3 separate regions of the Homo sapiens genome follow, and regions 2 and 3 are each linked to region 1. The links are contacts of gene promoters, found by promoter capture Hi-C in blood cells and fetal thymus (Javierre and others, 2016). All regions are on one chromosome and are shown on one strand. The core of a region is centred on a gene start or on the middle of the fragment in contact, and the rest is flanking DNA. Distances in the headings are between cores, read along the strand shown.

The links. Contacts are between HindIII fragments. The CHiCAGO score rates a contact against its expected background, and 5 or more counts as called.
Region 2: a contact is called between a fragment that was not itself captured here and the fragment with the promoter of EOGT in region 1, in 1 of 17 cell types (activated CD4 T cells). The highest score is 5.3, in activated CD4 T cells.
Region 3: a contact is called between a fragment that was not itself captured here and the fragment with the promoter of EOGT in region 1, in 1 of 17 cell types (total CD4 T cells). The highest score is 6.6, in total CD4 T cells.

What each region holds. Positions count from the first base shown.
Region 1 is chr3:69,011,342-69,016,488 of GRCh38, reverse strand. It overlaps EOGT (EGF domain specific O-linked N-acetylglucosamine transferase), which reads left to right and starts at 2,805. Exons shown (of 18, transcript NM_001278689.2): 1 at 2,805-2,915; 2 at 3,690-3,974; 3 at 4,498-4,553. It overlaps EOGT-DT (EOGT divergent transcript), which reads right to left and starts at 3,369. Exons shown (of 1, transcript NR_185971.1): 1 at 1-3,369. RefSeq lists silencers at 2,578-2,877, 2,938-3,487. The HindIII fragment of the contact is 3,596 bases long and covers 932-4,527 here.
Region 2 is chr3:69,440,036-69,445,182 of GRCh38, reverse strand. It overlaps a transcript of FRMD4B not described here. Among named protein-coding and RNA genes, the nearest start is that of FRMD4B, 57 kb to the right of the region's middle. The HindIII fragment of the contact is 2,520 bases long and covers 1,431-3,950 here.
Region 3 is chr3:69,306,938-69,312,084 of GRCh38, reverse strand. It overlaps FRMD4B (FERM domain containing 4B), which reads left to right. Exons shown (of 23, transcript NM_015123.3): 3 at 728-822. Among named protein-coding and RNA genes, the nearest start is that of FRMD4B, 77 kb to the left of the region's middle. The HindIII fragment of the contact is 5,597 bases long and covers 57-5,147 here.

The DNA of each region.
Region 1 (5,147 bases), core at 1,556-4,055:
GCCAATACAGTGAAACCCCGTCTCTACTAAAAATATAAATATTTGTCAGGCATGGTGGCGCATGCCTGTAATCGCAGTTACTCAGGAGTCTGAGGGAGAAGAATTGCTTGAACCCAGGAGATGGAGGTTGCAGTGAGCCAAGATTGCACCATTGTACTCCAGCCTGGGCAAAAGAGTAAGACTCTGTCACACACACACACACACACATACACACACACACACACACACACACCAAAAAACAAAGTCATGTCTTCTTTGTTCCTTATACCCCTCCTCTTCCCTCCTTGCCCATATAGTCATTTTAAATGTTAATCTACTTGTAAAATAATAATTAGTAAATATATATGTGTATACACATGTATACACACATATTCCTCTTAGAAAAATGATATTTACATATTACATATCCTTTTCCCACTCAATATTCTGTAGTGTACAGAGATATTTCTCAATTCCTTTTTATGCATGCATAGTTTTACATTGTATGGATAAACCATAGTTTATTCAACCAGCCTTCTATTGGTAGACACTTGAGTTTTATGTCAGCTCAAAGAAAATTTAAATTCTAACATTGGTATTTTGGAGAGAAATTCTATTTGAGAATGGCTGTTACAGTAAGAGAGACTCAATCTCATGTTCAGGTTTATCATATCTGGTTTCCTGTAAGTCTGAATGACCATTCAATATGTAGGTGTTTAAAATAGCACCACATAGCCAGGCGTGGTGGCTCACAACTGTAAACCCAGCACTTTAGGAGGCCGAGGCTGGAAGATCACTTGAGGCCCGGAGTTGGAAACAAGTGCTGGGAACATAGCAAGAACCTGTTTCTACAAAAAAAATAAAATAAAATAGTACCATGCACATGTCATACTGATTTTAACCTTTTTGTATGTGACAAAAATAGGATGGTAGCAAGTAGGCTGAGGAAGCTTTTTTTTTTTTTTTTTATGAGACAGGGTCTCACTGTGGCCCAGGCTAGAGTGCAGTGTCTCAATCATGGCTCACTGCAGCCTCAACCTCACTGGGCTCAAGCGATCATCCTGAGTAGCTGGGACTACTGGCATGAGCCACAGTGCCTGGCTTGAGGAAGCATTTTAAAAAATTACTGTCATTAGTGTGGGATGGTGAAGTATGCAAAGTATAAAATAATAGAGCAGTAATTCTGTTATAGGAAAGGGGTCCCAATCCAGACCCCAAGAGAGGGTTCTTGGATCTCGAGCAAGAAAGAATTCAGGGCAAAGTGTAAGCAAGTTTGTTAAGAAAGTAAAGGAAAAAAAAAAAGAAAGTAAAGGAAGAAAAGAATGGCTACTCCATAGACAAAGCAGCCCTGAGTGCTGCTGGTTGCCCATTTTTATGGTTATTTCTTGATGATATGCTAAACAGGTGGATTATTCATGCCTCCCCTTTTAAGACCATATAGGGTAACTTCCTGACATTGCCATGGCATTCGTAAACTGTCATGGCGCTGATAGGAGTATAGTAGTAAGGACTACCAGAGGTCTCTTTCATGGCCATCTTGGTTTTGGTGGGATTTAGCCGGCTTATTTACTGCAACCTGTTTTATCAACAAGGTCTTTATGACCTGTATCTTGTGCCGACTTCCTATCTCATTCTGCGACTTAGAATGCTTTAACGGCCTGGGAATGCAGCCCAGTAGGTTTCAGCCTCATTTTACTCAGCTCCTATTTAAGATGGAGTTGCTCCGGTTCACATGCCTCTTGACAGTTCCCTTAGAGGCAAAATCTTTTCAATAAAAAGAATAAATTAATACTGTAAAGTGCTTTAAAACAATGTTTGGCACATGTTAAACACCACATGTTCTTGCTGTTATTATTTGAAAAAAATTCCAGGTAAGATTCCTAATTTAGCAGGTCACTAATGGAACTTGTAACAATTCTTAAACAACATTACTTTTAAAAATTACGTAAAAAGCATGTAAGCCTTTGGAAACAAACTTGTTTCCTTATGATCATATTATTTAACTTCTGGTGACTATATTCATTTGAGCATGTTTATTTTGAAGTCATCACCTTCATATAATCAGTTCAACTTTAGTCACTATTTAATGATCAACTCTACTGTGCTGTAGATGGAATACTAGGCCTGGGGGAGCTTAGAGGAAAAGACAGTGGGGGATGGGAGTTCAAATAATTATAAGCAGTAATAAAGTAAATTAACAAAACCATAAAAATTAAACTCCACAGAGTAGCATTTGAACTTGATGAGTTTACGGATAGGTAAAACTATACTGCTTTTAAAATGTGTGTGGACTCCAAAGTATCCTCACCATCACAAAGTGTATTCGGTGAACGATGTTCAGTCCCCAAATTTGGAAGTTAGGGCGGCAACTTCTGCTTGAAATAAGACAAAAGTAAAAATCCACCTCAGTGCAACGCAGAAGACACGAAGAGTCAGGTTTTCTACCCACCCCGTCCTAACATCCTCTGAGCGCTTTAACGCTCTCGCTCAAGGAGGCGCGGGCTGCTGCGATGGAGATGGGCGTCCGGCGCCGGCACGTGCCGTCGGTCTTTCCGGCCCTGGTGAGGGAGCTGGCGGACTCGCGCGAACGTTCGCGGGAGAACGCCAGGAAGGGCAGATGGTTCCTCGACTCTGAGCCCCTCCCTGCTGCGCTCGCCGGGTCGAGGCCGCTCGCCGGGCTGAAGCCGCTCCGAGCGTCGGGCCCCGCGCCCTGGCCCTCCTGGGTGTAGTCCCGGTCCTGCCTCTGCGGGGCCCGAGCCCGCCCACGGCGCCGGCTGGCCAAGGTGTCCCAGCTGCTCCTTGGCGCCCCCTGGCCCAGCTCCCGCGCCCGAGGTTTCCGGTGAGCGGCAGTAGCCGGTTATGACGACTCCCTCCTCTGGAACAGCCGCCGTCTCCTCCGCCTCCTCCTCGGTAGTTCACGGCTGCCCCGGCTCCAGGTGGGACTCCCCCGCAATCTGCGGAGCCTTCCCCCGCTCTCCTTCCCGCCGCCGCAGCGCTCTGCGCTGTTCTTGCCCGGGTGGTAGCCGCTCCCGGCGCGGCTTCCCGGAGGGCTATAGCCTACGCACGCACTCCGCCCGCGCCTTCCCATTCCCTGCGGGCCGGGAGGCGGGCGTCGGAAGCCGATCCTGGCCCTCCCCGGCCCCGGGCGCCCGGCCCCTTCCCAGCGCCCGGAGCGCAGGCGGGCCCCGGGCCCTAGCCGCGTTGACCAGGTTTCCAGCCGGGGCGGAGCCGCTCCCCGGGGCCCCTCCCAGGCGCGCTGGGGACCCGGGGCGCCGCGGTGCACGGTGGCGGGCGGCCCCGGGAGATCACCGACCCCGAAGCAATCCCTGGCGGCGCCCGGGGTCCGGAACCCCAGCGCGGCGTCTCAGCCGCGGCGGGGTGCTCGCCACTGACCCCTCAGCCCTTGGCCGGGACTGACGTTCAAGCGGACAGCTGGGCTCTGCCGGGACTGACGTTCAAGGGGCAGCCGAGCACTTCCTGAGCCCTGCCTGGCACCCGCCGAGAGACTTTTTGGCACAAGTAGGGGCCAGCCGTTGAGGTGTCATTCGGGGTCTCACGTGTTGAACTTTCCATTTGCCCACTGCCGTCTTTAAACTTTTCCAAGCTCTCTCTCTCTGCGACATTGCCCCATTTCGCCCGCTGTGTCAACCCCAGGTTTTGCCTCCTATCCATCATCTTTCAGATGTTTCCCTTTTTTCCTTCCTCATTAGGCCTGTGGAAATCGAATCAAGGGTTTCTGGAGTGGAGTGATTCCAGCTGCTTTGAGCTGAAGGAAAAGTAGCCTGGCCAGTAAAGCGTCCGTGTGCTGGAGGAGTGCAGCCACCCATCCCGGCGGGCCTTGCAGGACGACCGACACCAGGAAGGCTTTGTGCCAGGCCCAGCAGCCACCCCCAGCCGCCTTATGCAAGTGGGTACATGCCCTCGCCAGACGCCAGCTTTCTGATCTGCGTCTTTAGATTTTTTCCATCGCCTAAGCGTTACTTCTCCACTGATCGGTGAGTTTAGTGATGGCCAGAGCTCACTGGAGGACAATGGACTTGGATAACCAAAGGTCAGGGCTTGGTCATAACAATGACTTTATTACCGGGAAGGACGAGTCAAAAAATAGGAAGGCCTGGGAACCCTCAGGCTCGCCACTCTAGGTGGGTAGCCCTGTGATTCAGCCAGTGGGATTACTGCTGTGAGAATGGGAAAGTTGTTTGCTTCTGGGAATGTTTGATCCACTAAGTATCCTGTTGGCCAGTTCCAGTGGATGCCTGTAGAAAGTGGGCCACCTCCTCCCGTTCCCCATTGGAATCTGGTCCGAGTTGCTGTGTTGGGGGTGGTGCCTGTGAACTCGAGTATAGCAGTGTGGTATTCATTAAGGAAAAGAAAGCGCACCACCGGCCAGGCCTTCTGGCTGAGAGTTATCACGTTACATTATTTTCTTTCTTAATATTTCCTTTAATTCACAACATCATCTGAATGATCAGGTTTACTTTAGCATCCTTTTAAGGTAATATGTTTCATTTCTGACAGGTTTTAGAGACCTGAAACATCACAGAAGCTTCTGAGTGGTTCTGAAGATTCAAGAGGTATATATTTTTATTACAAGTAGAGTCATTGTTACTATTAATATGTGTTTTTAAATTTTTATAAAACTGCTGTCAACTCATTCTTGGATAAAAGCTCCAAGTGAAAATGTTATTGTAATTCAGATCAGATTTACAGCAGATAACACCATACTCTTGAGGGCCGCCAAAGTGAAAAACCACAATACTTAACTACTCCAAGGGGGGAAAATGGGGGAAAAAGGATTCCTTTTTGGTGTCCCCACTGTTCACTTAGAATTCCATGGCCTTGGAACTTGAGGTTTGATGGAACATAGCAGTCAATTTCCTTTTCTTCTTTCTTTCTTTGTTTTTTTTTTTTTTTGAGACAGAGTCTCCCTCGCATTACCCAGGCTGGAGTGCAGTGGCGAGATCACGACTCACTGCATCCTTGACTTCCCAGGCTAAAGTGATCCTCCCACTTCAGCTGGGACTACAGCTGATTTTTTGTATTCTTAGCAGAGACCGGGTTTCATCACGTTGCCCAAGCTGGTCTCGAACTCAGGGACTCAAGCAATCTGCCAGTCTTGGCCTCCCAAAGTGCTACTATTACAGGCCTGCAGTCTGTTTCTAAAGGTT
Region 2 (5,147 bases), core at 1,441-3,940, 430 kb before region 1:
CCTTTTCAGCAGACACCCGTTCAGGGCAAGCTCCAAACCCTTTCTGGCTGCTGTCGTTTCTGGCGGGTATGTCACTTGTATGCATCACTCTGACCGCAGCGGGAGTGCTCGGAGGAGTTTACTTTTGCTTTGCGAGACTTTTTGGAAGGTTGTCTATTTTTATTAATTGTGGCATAGGAATTACTTTGTCAGAAATTTTGGAGCCCAGGAGTCTAAAAAATTACAGGGTATTATTAAATATTTAAGAATTGCTTAATTTCTCCACGTGGTATGAGATTTTGGCTGAAATTGGATCCTTGGGCTATTTACATCTAGTTTAGCATTACAGAGCCAGTTTTGCCTATTAAAACAAGTTTGAAAATTGTTTAAAACAATCTGGTGGATAAGTGTGTGTAGAGATTTTGTTGTTTCTTTATGTTCGTGGAGATGAGTAGTGAACATAGCACTGAAACAGAAGCAATCATCTTAGCTTGTGAAAATCCTGTTTGAGTAATAATGGGAAATGTTATCTTTTAAAATGTTTTGGTTATTTTCTTTTCCATTACAAACATGATATAAGTTCCTCCTAGAAAATTTGGAAGGTATGGGGTGAGAGTCAGGCGTAACCTAATCACACAGAAATCCATGAGATGTTGAAGTCTCATAAAATGATAGAGCTGGAATGCACTTTTATAACTATGTGGTTGAAAGAAAAAAACAACTTTATGTCAATAATCACAACACTTCTGATACCAAATGTGTGGATTTTCCACACTAAGCAGTCAGTTCTCCAACTCCTCATACACCAACTGGATGTCCTCAATTCAATTCAGTTCAATTTTGATTTCACAAAATCTACCTGAAATTAGCATCAGATACTGTAATCACCCAAATGTGTTCTTCTTGCCCGCTGCACAGATAAACCCAATTCACTGAGACAGCATTATTGCAGTAAACAAAGAGTTTAATTAATGCAAGGCTGGCCAAGCAGAAGGATTGGGGCTGTTACTCAAATCAGTCTCCCCAAAGACGCTAGGGTTTTTCAAGGATAGTTTGGTGGGCAGGGGGCTAGGGAATGGGGAATGCTGATTGGATGGGAGATGAAATCAGAGGGGTGTGGAAAATGGTCCTCGTGTGCTGTCAGCCTCTGGGTGGGGGCCACAGGTCCAGCTGAGTCCCTGGTATGGGTGAAGTTAGTCATCAAAATGCAAAAGTCTGAAAAACATCTCAAAAGACCAATCTTGGGTTCTACAATAGTGATGTATCTACAGGAGTAATTGGGGAAGTTACAGATCTTGTGAGCTCCAGAACAATGGCTGGTTATTGTTTTAACTGTGCCTACATCTTAGCAGAATTCAGGCCCTCTTGTAATCCTAACCTTGTGGCTTTTCATTAGTTTTACAAAGGCAGTTTAGTTTGCAGAAGGGCTATTATCATTCTTGCTTTAAGCTTAAACTATAAACCAAATTCCTTTGAAAGTTAGCTTGGCCTACACCCAGGAATGAGTGAGGACAGCAAGTGTGTGTTGCTGGAAGCAAGATGGAGTTGGCTGTGTCAGATTTCTCTTACTGTCATAATTTTGCAAAGGTGGTTTTGGCCTCACAGGTTAAGGGCTCAGTCCCATAAGACTACCCCATTTCAGATGCCAATTGCAAGTCCTGGGCCCTCTGCACTTTTGACCAACTTAACTACAAATTAGGGGTTCCTATGACCTCCTGCTCAGGTTTGACAATTAGCTATAATAGCTCATAGAACTCAGAGAAACACTTCACTTACCAGTTCATTAGAAAAGATATTATAAAGGATACAGACAAACAGCCAGATGGAGATGTATATATAAAGTCCAGAGGGGTCCAAAAAGCAGGAGTTTCTGTGCCAGTGGAGTTTGGGATGTGCCGCTCTCCCAAAAAGTGAATGCATTCACCAGGAGGCTCTCCAAACCCCATTGTTCAGGGTTTTTATGGAGGTTCCATTAGTTAGGCATGATTGAGTAAATTGTGGCCACTGGTGACTGAACTCAACCTCCAGCCCCTCTCCCCTCCCTGGGGGTCAGGGGGTGGGACTGAAATTTCCAACCCTGTAATCACATGGTTGGTTCCTCTGGCAACCAGCCCCCACCCTGAAGCTGTGTGGGGCTGGAATCCCCCAGCCATCTCATTAACATAAACTCAGATGTGGTTGAAAGGGGCTTATTATGAGTAACAAAAGATGCTTCTCTCACCCCAATCACTCCGAAGTTACAAGAATTTCAGAAGCTCTTTGCCAGGAACTGGGGAAGAACAAACAGATTTCTTATTCTATCATAACATCACACTGGCCCACCTTCTCATTGTGCATATGAAGAAACTGGCCCAAAGCCACTCAGAGTCTAGAACCCATTTCCTCACTGCCTGTTTGAGCTGTTGCCCTGATAATGTTTATGTGGCTTCATAAGCAGGTCTGGTTGTCAGGGCTTCAGTGGAGGCACATGGATCCGCAATGCCCTCTTCTTGGGCAAAGAGGACATGACATAGGACGTCAGTGGGTGCACGTATGGCTCCATCTGCCCCCTAGTATTTGGGAGGCTGCATCATCTTAAATAAGGATGGCATTAAATTGCCTTAACCTAGTATTTAATACTCATAAATACTCACTTATGAGTATTTCTCATAAGTGGTTTTTGGACTACCTATGTTAGAATGATCTAGAGTGCTTGTTGAAAATGAAGGCCCCACCCCTGGTTTGTGGAATCAGAACCTCTAGAAGTGGGATTGACAATCTGCCTTCTTAACAAACTCAGATTCACTTAAAAATAACAATTTTTCAATAGAATAAAACTTATTGGCAGGGCATAGTGGCTCATGCCTGTAATCCCAGCACTTTGGGAGGCTGAAGCAGGAGGTTCACTTGAGGCCAGGAGTTTGAGACCAGCCTGGACAATATAGTGAGATCCCATCTCTAAAAAAAATTTAAAAATTAACTGAGCATGATGGTGTGCACTTGTAATTCCAGCTACTCAGGGGGCTGAGTTAGGAGGACTGCTTGAGTACAGGAGTTCAAGGCTGCAAGCTATGATTGCATCACAGCCTGAGTGACAGAGTGAGACCCCATCTCAAAAAAAAAAAAAAGAAACTTCTTTGGTGAATCATTCAGATTGTGTAATCTGAGATAGATTAGATAGCTGGAGATTTGTAAATGGATAAATGGTTTCTGGATTTATGCAAATAAACTTAATAGCTATCTCTTAGGAGTAGAAATGGGCCGAATAGACAGTGGCACTTTCACTGTTCTAAGCCACTTGGAAACCTGGAATGCAGAACATAAATGTGTTTGGAATCCGTTTTGTAAGTATTTCTGCAGTTAAACTATTTGTTCAAGAGACTAGAAATGTCTTACATCATTATTTACTGCTAATATATGGGAGAAAGGAAATACCCCTTTGTTGATATAAGAGGACACAGGAGGAGCAACCAGGGGCATTAGGGGAGATCCACGTGAGTTCATTTTTCCACTCAGTTATCCATTCAGCTCATATTCACTGAACAGCTGCCATGTGCCAGGAATTGCTGTAGGTTCTGGGGACACAGAAAAGAACAAGGCAGCAAGGTCCTCAATCATGTGGAGCTTATAGTATATCGTGGGGAATAATACACCAATAAAGAGTTCAAAGAAGATAAATTCAAATTGTGGCAAGTGCTGTGAAGAAATAAAGAAGCTATGTCATTACGGATGGTTGGAGGGCTACTCTCTGGTGGGCAGGGATAGTTTCTCTGAGAGAAGACATCTGAACCGAGGCCCAAACAGCAGGAAGAAACTAGCCATATGCATATCTGGGGAACAAGATTCCAGAAAAAACACAGCCTCAAGGACAAGGGTCCCAAAATAAAATTAGCTTGGTATGTTTGAGTACATAAAGAAAACCACTCCACTCTCACTGCCTCACTTGACTAACCTTAGAAAAAAAAGTAAAGAAAACCACTGTGGCTAAAGCTTAATGACTAACAGAACATACAATAAAAGTCCAGGAGGAAGATAGGAAACCATGTCCTATAATCATGCTCCAGTATGGAGTTCAAATTTCATTCTTAGTGTAACAGAAAGCCTCAGGGGAGCTACATTCAGGGAGGGATGATTTGCTATCTTCAGATTTGGGTTTCAAAAAAATCACTCCAGAGCTCAAAACCACTCAGAAACTCAGAGTACGTTTTAAGAAAATATACATCTGCTTCAGGAAAAAAAGGTTATTGTAAATTATTTTTAAAAGAGCTAAAGAAATGACAAGATATACCATATACGTGGAAAGGAAGATCAATATCATGAAATGTTGAGTATTTACAAATTCATTGTAGTTCTAAGCAAAATCCCCAGCATTCTGAAATATGAATGCAAATGTAAGTATTCAAGAATTTTTTTTTTTGACAGAGTCTCTTGCTCTGTTGCCAAGGCTGGAGTGCAATGGCATGATCTTGCCTCAGTGCAACCTCTGCCTCCCAGGTTCAAGCGATTCTTGTGCCTTAGCCCCTCAAGTAGCTGGGATTACAGGGGTGCATCACCACACCTGGCTAATTTTTGTATTTTTTTTAGTAGAGATGGGTTTTCCCCACGTTGGCCAGGCTGATCTCAAGCTCCTGGCCTCAAGTGATCCACCTGCCTTGGCTTCCCAAAGTGCTGGGATTACAGGCATGAGCCACCATGCCCAGCCACATTCAAGAATTTAATAAGGGAGTTTTGTGAAAGAATAAAAGATTAGGAGTTCCTCTATCAAAATTTATTATAAAGCCATAGACAGTATTACTGGTGAAGGGTAATTGAAAAATAGATCAATAGGACAGAAAAGAGAGCCCAATGATGAACTAAACAAATATGGTTCTTTCTATATGATATAGGATGCTTTAGAAGTTACAGAGGAAAACACAGTATCAAAAGTAAATGGTATTGTTACAACTGATAGCCTGTAAGAAGAAAAAATCAGATTCTTACATAACAGTTTGTACAAGAATAAATTGTGAGATGGATTAAAAACTTAAATATAAGAAATAAAAATGTAAAACCTTTAGATGGGGAGAAAGGAATCTTAGAATAAAGTAGATTTTATAAACTAGAGTCTCAAAAGTCACACTCAAGTTTGGATGAATTTCACTATATCAAAATGTATAACTTCTGCATAACATGGCACCATAAAATAAAAA
Region 3 (5,147 bases), core at 1,606-4,105, 300 kb before region 1:
TGTTGATGATGATGTGTGGAATGGGTACAATTTCTCTATCTCAGGAAGGAAAAGCTTAGGCTTTAGAAGGAGACAGACTAGGTTCAAATCCCTGCCCTTACTAACAATGTAACATCAAGCAAGGTGCTTAACTACTCTGGGCCTTGGTTGACTCATTTATAAAATGGAAATAAAAAGCCCTGCCTCATAGCTCATTATAAGGATTAAATGACAATGGGATATAAGTTCAGCATAATAAATAGTAACTATTATTATTATTATTATTAATATTTTCATCAGTAGCCCCACAGCTTTGAGTCTTGGGTTTCTTCAACTGGCCACCAACAAGCAAAATGTTTCCTGCAATCTTTTATATATCACAGATAACCAAGCAGCAAGGTGTTTAATATTCCTTGTCTTGGGCATTAGCACCACGTTACATATAAAAGAGTATTTTTTCCAAAACATCTTAGTAAGTGCACCTTAGAGGGAAAATGTAAGGTACTTGAGTGAATTGCAAATACATGAAAATGATAGTCTCATTGATATTCCTATTCCCATCTCTTCTCCTTCCCACAATTCTTAAAGAATTGTCTATAGTACATCAACCTAATCCACAAACAAGGGCAAGTAATAAAGAAACAAACAAATAAACAAAAGCTACTTTAAATTATTTAGGGCAGAGGAAGGTGGTAGCAGTAAGAGAGAGGCAACCAAATTGCTTCTAACCAGATTTTTATTTTGACAGCCCAAACTTCTAGCAAGAGAGTTGCTGGACCTAGTGGCTTCACATTTCAACCTGAAAGAAAAGGAGTATTTTGGAATAACATTCATAGATGACACGTAAGTCCTTTAATAGTTTTAGTTTCTTTACCTTTTGCCTGGGCTACCTACTTGCTGTCTTCCATAATTAACAAAAAAGGAAATAAGTCCTCCAGCATTCAGAACATGTCCTGCTTAGCTAAAGGTTTTTTAATATGCGATTTTTCTCCTAGGATTATGGCAAAGGGAGAAGAAAAGGGATACTGACCATTTTAGGAACTCAAAATATTGTTCTAAATGTTTTAGAAATGTGTAGTAATGAGTTTGTTATTCCCGATTACAGTGTATCTTCTCATGTCTTTGAATGTGATTGTGCTTGCTAATTTAGCTTATATGGTAGAAATATTAGATATTTACTCACATCTTGAAACTGAGTGGATGTGTTGGTGTTGGTGGCAAGAGAGCTTAAAGGCAAATTTGTGGCCCACTAAAAAACATGTATATAGTTTAATATGGAATGAACTTTTAAACTACCACTTAGGTCCATTTTATGTTGCCTTCTCAACTATCTTTTTCTTTTTTTTTTCACTTTTGCCTTTTATGCTAAGTTGTTGAATGTTGTATATATTTGTCAACAATATATATGCTCCCCAAAACAAGGCAGGTAAATAAAAATAAATTCATGAGAATTTAACACTCTAAGCAAATGTGTTTGGATTTACTAGCTCTTTTCTCTCTCTCTCTCTCTCTCTCTCTCTCTCTGTGTGTGTGTGTGTGTGTGTGTGTGTGTTTGTCTGTGTGTATCTGTCTGTCTTTTTTATGGCAGCCCAATTTGCCTACATTTTATGCAGCCCGATACATTATCAGAGGAATCCTTCCACTTTCTGCAGATAATTTCCAAAGAGCTCCTTAAATGTTAAAATGCAAGAAGATGTGTTCCAGACATAAAATATGTTGGCCAACCATCCAGCATTCTTTTCATAATGCTGCCAATTTAAATATTTTTCAGTTCTTTAGTTTAATCAGGTGGAAAATCATCTCAAGAAGGAGTTAATTTGCTTTTAACACCTTGTGGCTTCTGATTATTCCCAGCCTGGGTGGGCTGTGAGCCTAGGACCTCCAGAATATGCCAGCAGGCTCAGGACTTGCACTGGGCAAAAACCAAGCAGCTGAATTATCAGGAGGAATAGAAAAACCTGAAAACTTGATTCTGGACTGAGGATGTTTCCCAAAGAGGGCTCAACAAGGCAGAAGAAAGTACACTAGACATCTCTCACCTCACTCTGAATCACTCAACAGCTACCATTTGAGAGGCTCTGTATGACCTGTCCTCTACTGGATGAAATGGGAAATGCCGACATGCATAGCCAGCACCAGCTCCTGCGAATCAGTGATTGAACACGCACACACATAGGCTGAATCCAAATGTGGATGAAATCATAGCAAACAGTATAAGACATAAAGCCATAAATATACAATGGCTAGGTTATATGGTATAAACTGTAACTGCTATAAGCACTATAATTTAGGCAGAGGTCACATAGAATAGGGGTTAACAACATGAATATTGGAGTAATTTATTCATTGAAAAAATATTGGCCGGGTGTGATAGTTCACACTTGTAATCCCCGCACTTTGGAGGGCCGAGATGGGCAGATCCCTTGAGTACAGGAGTTTCAGAGCCACCTAGGTAACATAGGGAGACCCCATATCTACAAAAAAAAAAAAAAAAAAAATCAGCCAGGTATGGTGACACATCTGTAGTCCCAGCTACTCGGGAGGCTGAGGTGGGAGGACAACTTGAGCCCAGGAGGTTGAGGCTGCCGTGAGCTATGATGATGGCACTACTGCCATCCAGCCTGGGCGACAGAGTGAGACCTTGTCTCAAGTATATATATATATTTACATTAAGAGTGGCTCACACCTGTGATCCTAACACTTTTGGAGACCAAGGGAGGGAGTATTGCATGAGGCCAGGAGTTCAAGACCAGCCTAGGCAACATAGTGAGACCCCATCTCTACGAAAAAAAAAAAAAAAATTAAAAATCAGCCAGGTGTGGTGATGTGCAACTCCAGTCCTAGCCACTCAGGAGGCTGAGGCTGAGGTGGGAGGATTGCATGAGCCTAGGAGTTCAAGGCTACAGTGAGTTTATGATCATGCCACTGCACACCAGCCTAGGCAATAGAGCAAGAACCCATCTCTAAAAATAGAAAATAAAATATTTTTTGAATGCCCACTCAATGCCAGGTGTTGTTCTATATCACGAGGATTCAGCTAGGAGTAACACAGACAAGGCCCCTGCTTTTATGGAGCTCATATTGCAATGCTATAGTCTAGCATAACAAGTAAACAAACAGATAAATCAAAGGAATATCAGCAATTATAAGTGCATTGAAGAACATAAAAGGCCATGACCAAGAAAACTTGGGTTCAGTTTTAGACAGGGTGGGCTAGGACAGGATCTAGGAGGTGACATGTAATGAAAAGCAAGAGCCAGTTCTGCAAAAATTTGGGGAGACATTACAAACAAAAACCAGTGCAAAAGTCCTGAGGTGGGGCTAAGCATGACTTTTGTGATTTGTTTTTTGCGAGAAAAAAAACAAGGCCGGGCACAGTGGCTCACACCTCTAATCCCAGCACTTTGGGAGGCTGAGGCAGTCAGATCACTTGAGCCTAGGAATTCCAGACCAGCCTGGGCAACATGGTGAAACCCCATCTCTACTAAAAATGCAAAAACATTAAGGGGGCATGATGGTGCACACCTGTAGTCCCAGCTCCTCGGGAGGCTTAGGTGGGAGGATTGCATGAGCCCAGAAAGTGGAGGTTGCAGTGAGCCATGATCTCACCACTGCACTCCAGCCCAAGTGACAGAGTGAGATCCTGTCCCAAACAAAAAAAAAAAAAGCCAGTGTGATGAGAGTACAGAGATTAAGAGGGAAAGTGGTACAGGAGGAGGGTTGAGAGGGAGGTAGGAGCAGGTATCAGAGAATCTTGATAGCTAGCTGTGTGACCTTAGAACAGTTACTTAACATCTCTGACACTCAAGTTTTCTCATCTGTACGCTGGACATAATAACAGTGCCTTATATAGTATGTACTACATAAGGCACCTGTAATAGGGTACTAGTATTCAATACTATTAAATCAGGTAAGGTAGGCAGAGCATATAGCACCGGCCCACAATAAAAGGGAGCTGTCATCCCAATGTACTGCAGTAAGGGAGTGTTAAGAAGGAAACTGAAGGAGGACTGGAGCAGGCGTCACACAGACGAGTAACTAAAATTGGATCTTGCAGGTAAGGTAGACTTTAAATAGATGGGAGGGGAGATGAGAGGTGACATCCTAGGCAAGAGTTATTTTGTGGGCAAATGCATGAACATGGCAACGAACAAGGTACATTTGCCCAAGGGTGAAGACGTTGGCCTGATCGTGGGGACAAGATCATAGGTGAGCCTTGTTAGTCACACAGATGGAGGAGGCACACCCAGTCCATGGAAGGATGTTATAGGGAGGAGGAATGCGGCTTTGACTTGCAGTGTCAGAGGTCCCTCAGACTGCAAGGTTTGTGGCAGACTGGAAAAGAGGGTCCTGGCCACATGGGAGGCTTCAGGAAAAGCTCCAAGCTCAGTTGAATATAAACCAGACAGTGCGTAAGTAAGGGGTTCAGACTGTAAGACCTTCTCTTCGGAAAGAAAAGAAATAGTAGGCCGGGTGTGGTGGCTCACGCCTGTAATCTCAACACTTTGGAGGCTGAGGAGGGTGGATCACCTGAGGTCAGGAGTTTGTGACCAGCCTGGGCAACACGGCAAAACCCCGTCTTACTAAAAATACAAAAATTAGCTGGGCGTGGTGGTGGGCGCCTGTAATCCCAGCTACTCAGGCACCTGAGGCATGAGGATCACTTAAACCCAGGAGGTGGAGGTTGCAGTGAACCGAGATTGTGCCACTCCAGCCTGGGTGACAAAGCGAGACACTGTCCAAAAAGGAAAAGAAAAGGAATAATGGGAATGACTTCCTTCAGTTATTTGGGCCACCCTTCTTGTTGTCTGCCCTGAGATTTCTTTCTCAAAACTACGCTGGGAGAAGAATGGTTCACACAGCCTTTTTCCCAGTTACCTCCTTTGGTTCAACCAAAGGAGGTAACTATAGTCATGGTCTTTCCAAGAACCCCGGCTCCACAATGTCCTCTGTGCACTCCCCGGCAAGTGACGGCAGAGTCTCTTTTTGAATTATGACCAGTTTGGGGAGGTGTCTCCTGGCTCTAGTCGTGTTTATTTTCAGAAGAAGTATGAGCGGGGCTGTTGAGGGGGTGGAAATTGGCCATTTCTACCTTTCTGGGGAGCGGGCCTGGAATATTGCTTATGTCTAAGGGTGTCTCCTTGGAATGTCTTGGTCACAAGCCTAGT